Linked DNA regions of Homo sapiens: region 2 is linked to region 1. The links are contacts of gene promoters, found by promoter capture Hi-C in human tissues and cell types (Jung and others, 2019). All regions are on one chromosome and are shown on one strand. Each heading gives the region's core, a stretch centred on a gene start or on the middle of the fragment in contact. The rest is flanking DNA. Distances are from core to core; before and after follow the strand shown.

The links. Contacts are between HindIII fragments. The study calls those that stand out against the background at their distance.
Region 2: a contact is called between the fragment with the promoter of CRABP1 here and a fragment that was not itself captured in region 1, in 5 of the 25 tissues and cell types used here (adrenal gland, dorsolateral prefrontal cortex, mesenchymal stem cells and 2 more).

Annotation. Positions count from the first base shown.
Region 1 is chr15:78,459,234-78,462,313 of GRCh38, reverse strand. All of the region lies in intron 2 of IREB2 (iron responsive element binding protein 2), which reads right to left. Among named protein-coding and RNA genes, the nearest start is that of IREB2, 23 kb to the right of the region's middle. The HindIII fragment of the contact is 5,727 bases long and covers 1-3,080 here.
Region 2 is chr15:78,338,825-78,341,804 of GRCh38, reverse strand. It overlaps CRABP1 (cellular retinoic acid binding protein 1), which reads right to left and starts at 1,452. Exons shown (of 4, transcript NM_004378.3): 1 at 1,307-1,452; 2 at 584-762. The coding sequence starts at 1,376. RefSeq lists an enhancer at 1,274-1,902. The HindIII fragment of the contact is 13,960 bases long and covers 1-2,980 here.

The DNA of each region.
Region 1 (3,080 bases), core at 131-2,630:
TTTCCTTAGGATTTAAAGAGAAGACTGAATTAATATGGGGTTAGTTGAATAAATCACTGTAATCCACACAATGGATTACCATGCAGCTGTTTAAAGGAGTGAAGAGTTACATGCTGATAAACAGTGAGCTCCAGAATATATATCATTAAGAGAAAAAGCAGGGCAGAACAGTGTTTATAGTATGCTAACTTTCCTGTAAGAAAGAGAGTTTAAAAACATATCCATAATATATTATTTTAAAATAAACATAAGATCATCAAATGTGTATTATGAGAAATATAATTTTAAAAATATATTAGCATGCATATTTTAACAAAAAGAAACAACGAAAGGATAAACAAAAAAACTAAGCATATATCTCACACGGTATTTCCACTGTACTTCCTTATTGGGAGTACCTTTTTGGTACAAAAAGGTATCACAAAGAAAGAAAACTATATTCAGTCATTAGTGCTGCTATTCAGAGATTGTGACTGGTGTAACAAGCAGCAAGCAAAAAAGTACTTTTTGTTACTATGGTTTCAAGAGCACAGAAGTATAAAATCAGAGTAGCTAATGAGAGCTAAAGTAACACTAAGTATTTTTTTGTTATTTCACAGGAGCGTTTGCATTTCCTGCTCACTGGGTGAGGTGGAGGGGGGCGAGGAGGAGGAAGTATGCAGAGAGAAGACTTCTGTGCCTGTGAGTTACATTAGTTCAGATTGTCTAACCATTGTTCTATATATGTAATTTAGTTAATACTGTTGTGTGTAAAGGATAAACAACTCCTAAGGCTCAAAGTATGTTAAAAGTAGAGGCAGTAAAATAATCCGTTTTTAAACATCCTTTTTTTTAGGAAGGCCTGTCTTCTGGGAGTGGTATTTGTTAACCTACTTCTAAGAGCTAGATGCAGTAATGTACTTAGTCACTGAAATGATAGAAGAGGGAAAAGGGGTGAAGGGTAAGGCTCTTTACTAGTGTCTCCATATCCAGAGGACAGGTTTTAGATTTTAACCATAGGTCTCTATGTGCATTTTTGGTAACTCATCTGTTTACTGTGAACAAAGTTCAATCTTTATTTTGCAACATCTAAGCTTTATAGATGTCCTGAGGTGACAATGTATGATAAAAAGCAGAGATAGTGAGTTAGCCAATTTGTAAATATCTTGGTATAATTGATGGAAAAGACGCATCTTGAACATGGAACTGTTAAACCACCTAGGTAGGGTGTATCAGGACTCATTCAATAGGTTGGCAGCTGAACGGCAGAAGGTAGCTTTGGGGTTCTGAACTAATAAATGTTCATGATATGTGAAAAAGCATGATACATACTGTATGATCTCAATCACATAAAAATGGATGTTATGTATATACACACACAAGACCTAGAAGGGCATGTCAAACTGCTTATGATTGTGGATGACTCTGTTCCTCATTTCTTGTGTTTTTCAGTTTCCAATAGCGCACGTTAATTTTTTTTAAAATGAAGCTTATTTTTAAAATCTGGAAAAAAAAATCACAGTAGCCAAGTTAAGTCCTTACATTTCAATTATAAACATGGATACGAACTCATGATTTATTTTTCTCTTCCTAAAAATTAGGTATTTTCTAGCTCTGTCACTGAAAATGCCTAGAATAACAACCCAACAGTAACAAACCCTTAACAACTGTTTGTTGTTTCTAAAAACTATTTCCTAAACACACACAACAGAACAGTTTTTCAGAGAAATGACTGATTCTAATCTGGAGAAGGATTTGTACAAAATGAGCCTGGATATCTTGTGTCCGAAACCAAAGAAGTTATCAAAGACTAATGGGGACACTAACGGGTCAATCTGAGCATCAAAATGAGTAATAACTATAATTCACCAAAATACATCAAATATATAAGTAGCCCTTAGTTCATAATGACTCTTAAAAAACCTTTCATTGATCACCAATGAGAGTTGCTAGGGCATCAACTCATTACTCTGAAAACTGACAAATAAAGGGGGAAAATCAATAGTTAATATTATCTTTCCTCCTTTCAGGTAACCAAATAGACAAAAGTACTTTGTTATAGAAGAATTACAGCTAGTAAATGTGGAAGAAACGATGTAATCTGAAAGATCACCAATGTGCAACACCTAATGAAATAATGGATCTAGATAATGGTCACAAATGGGTGCTAAAATCATTAGGATTTATGTGGATGGCGCGCTTACAAGCTGGTAACACTCATACCCACTTAGCATCACCAAAAGTAAGATATTAGAGATATTATTTGCCTCCTGATGAAACAAAAAACTACATGTTCCAACTAGGAAGTGTTCTCGCAAAAATAAGAACACTTACTATCTTGCAAAAATAAACCTGAATCTAATTAAACCTCTAGCTCTAACTTCCAGTTAACTGAAAACATGGGGGTTAGTAGGAAAGTAAAATGAAACCCCAAAGAAGCTATCAGCCAAATCTAGAATGTGGGACATTCTACAGGATAAAGAACCTAGGTTTTTCAACATAAAAATGGCACGAAAAAAGAGGAGAGGAAGACTATTACAGATTACAAGAAACTTAAAAGACGTAACAACCAAATACTGTGTTGGCCCTATTTGGATACTGTTTCAACAAACCAAATGTAAAAATGTATTTTTGAGATAACCAGAAAAATCTGAATACGAACTCAGTTTTAGATTTTATTAAGTGGCCAGGCACGGTGGCTCACCGCCTGTAATCGCAAAATTTTGGGAGGCCGACGTGGGTGGATCACTCGAGGTCAAGAGTTACAGACCAGCCTGACCAACATGGCGAAACCCCGTCTCTACTAAAAATACAAAAATTAGCCTGGCATGGTGGCATGCACCTGTAATCCAAGCTATTCAGGAGGCTGAGGCTCAAGAATTGCTTGAACCCAGGAGGCAGATTCTACACCGAGCGGAGACCTTGCCACTGCACTCCAGCCTGGGCAACAGAGCGAGACTCTGTCTCAAAAAACAAAAAACAAAAAAACCAAAACAAACAAACAAAAAACCCAATTATATTAAGGGATTACTTAATTTTGTTAGGTATAACAATGGCACTGTGATTTTTTAAAAGTCCTTTTATATAACAGCTATGCATAT
Region 2 (2,980 bases), core at 203-2,702, 120 kb after region 1:
GAGAGGGCAACTAGTCCATTTTCCCAGCCAGAACCTGCCTTGCTTTTGGAAAGACTCCGCCGTTCCTTTAAGGAACCAGGCCGAAGGCGGGAAGGGAGAGGTGACGGGGCCATCGGGACTGCTAAAACTGTATCCAGAGCGTACCCAGGCGGCCCAGGGACCCGGGCGGGCGCGGGGGATACGGCGGGAAAGGAATGCAAGAGCTGCGGCTTCACCTGCGACAGAGAACCTGGCGGCTCCTGCAACCTCCTCCTCCTCCTGCGCCGCCTGCGCTTGGCGCTGCAAACCGCTGCAAAAGCCACTGCTGGGAACGCGGCGCAACCCAGAGCCCGCTCTTTAAGCGCGGCTGTTAGCACCCCGGGAGGCAGCGTAGGGATGGGGTTGAGATGGAATGAAGGTAATACTTTGTCTTGAGCCAGGGGCAACTAGGATGCACAAACCCCCTCTGCAAACAGCCAGTGTACACACCCTGCAAGGAAGGCGCGCCACAGGCTGCAAAGGGAGACACAGGTTCCTCCAGCAGCAGTGGGCCATGGGCACCGAGCGGGGACACGGGGACGCTGTAGTGGCTCTGGGGCCTCACCCTGCACTTGCGTCCGTCCACGGTCTCCTCCTCAAAGCCTTCTCCGACCTTGAAGTTGATCTCAGTGGTGCGCACCGTGGTGGATGTCTTGATGTAGAACTGATCCCCGTCCTGGCGGATCTCCACGTGCGGCTTGGACGCAGCCGCTACGGCCACTTTCCTCAGCATGGCGTTCACACCTGCGCAGGGTGCACCACAGGCTTGGGTCACGGGGCCTCGCCGCCAGTCTCGGGACCGGTCGGGCACTGGTCATACCCTAACTTTAGAAAGGGGCCTTAAAATTGATCCACTCGTTTCCCTGCCCTCGCCCTTGTTTTCGAGATGAGAGACTGAGGCACAGAGAGGGTAAGTGACTTTCCTCGAGTTGCACAGTGAATTCGTGGCAGAGCCTGGTCCCAAATTTGAGTCTCCAAATTTAAGTCCCTGATCCTCCTTGCTCTCCAGTAATCTCTCCTCGCTATGATCTAGCACGAGATAAAGTCCGCACCATCGAGGAGGGCGCCAAACATTCAGCAAACGTTCGCTGAACGCGTGGGTTCCGGGATCTCTACCAGCTTCTCCGAGACCCGGTGCGCCTGGGAGACAAGGCGATCTATTGCCCCGGGGACTCCCTCCTGCCTGGGCTCCCCAACTTCCACCCCCTCCAGGACCGGGGCACTTCCGGGACCAGGGCACCTCCGGGCCGCATCTCCCCGTCGGGGCGCGCCCTCTGCACCAGCTTACCCAGTGCCTTGAGCAGCTCGTCGAAATTCTCGCTGCTGCGCATCTTCCAGGTGCCGGCGAAGTTGGGCATGGTGGCGGTGGCGGCGGCGGCAGGTACGGACAGCGGCGGCGCAGCGGGCACACTCTGAGCTCGCAAGGCGGAGACTGGCGCTTTGCGCCCAGCGCTGCGCGCCTTGAGTCACTAGGAGAGCGCCCCCAACCCCGCCGGGCTTCTGGCCCCGCCCCGCCGGCCCTGCCCCCGCTCCCCCGCAGCCCCTACTCGGTATGCGCTCAACTCCCAGCCCAGTTGTGCCTCAGCCTCCAGAGGTGCGGGCACCCGCTCTCCAACTGGGGAGCCTCCACCTCCCTCAGGACACCCACATCCCGCTTTAAAATGGGTGGTGGGAGAGGGTTAGCTGAAACAAGATGGGCTTGGAGGGGATAACTGTTGAAGCTGGGCGGTGTGGACTTGGGTTATGATTCTACTTTTCTCTCTACTTTTGAATATGTTTGAAAATATCCATAACATAAACTTAAAGTGGATAGCGAGCGGGGCCATCAGGGGATGGGACCCACTCTTTTTTCACCTCCGGTCGTACCTACTGGGTGTGCCCAGATGGTGTCCCTTCCCTCCCAGTCCGGGATCCTATTCTGAAACCCTCTCCCCGCATCCCCACGCCCCCCACAGGACCCATGGGGAGTGAGTGGCAGGAAACCGCAACCCCCATCAACACCAGCTTGGGCACTGAGGCGCGAATCCACGAGCTGCGGGTCCTCCGCGTTCCGAGTGCAGGAGGGGGCCAGACCTTTGTCAGGGCTCAGGACAAACTGTGGGTCGAGAGGCATGGACTGAATCAGCTCCAGAATCTGGGCTAGGTGCGGCCTGTTTTGCAAAAGCGTGAGGCTTTGCACTCTTCGGGCAGGCTGTGAGGGCCAAGGGGAGGAAGTCTTCTCCCTTTGCTCCCAAATAACCTAAACATCACGACCTAAAGTCCCCTCGGTGTTTCCACTAAGGGAGTACAAACACTTCACTATTACCCTTGTAGCTCTTCTCTGTACATTTTCCTTCCAGCTTTTTCCCACTATTTTACCATCTGCACACCTCAGCCAAACTGTACAATTCAGGATTCTAGAACGTGCCATGCATTTTATTATCTCTAAGTTTTTGCCCATGCCATGGCTTCTTCCTTGAATGCCCCTTTCCTCATCGGGTTAATCAAATCTTGCCCATTCACGAAAGCCCATCTTTATGCTCTCTCTTTTGTGAAATTCAGTTTCCTAATAAACTGTGATTATTTTTCTCTGAATTGACAGGATTCTTGTCCGGTCCTGCTCTTGTTCAAGTCTTCGCTCTGCTATAAACTGAACTCCTGGAGGGCAGTGATCGTTTATCCACTTGTCCTCCCTTCCTAAGGCTTAGCCAGGTGGGGCTCGATAACTGTGCATTGATTTGAGGAGGATGTGAGTGGTGGCCTGGGGTGAAGATTCCCCCAGGACCTTGGGGAATCTGTGCTGAGTGCCTACTGAACAGGGCCCTGGAAACTTCTGGAGGTGGCTGGGGCTGGGTTGCTGCCAGGAGGCTCCGAGGATCTGTCTAAGAAAGCAGCTGAGGACAGGAGAGGGGAGTGGGGCCATCACCAGCTGGAAAGGGGCATGGGCAGGGCCGGCATTCTGGACGTGCCGTCTGTGCAGTCA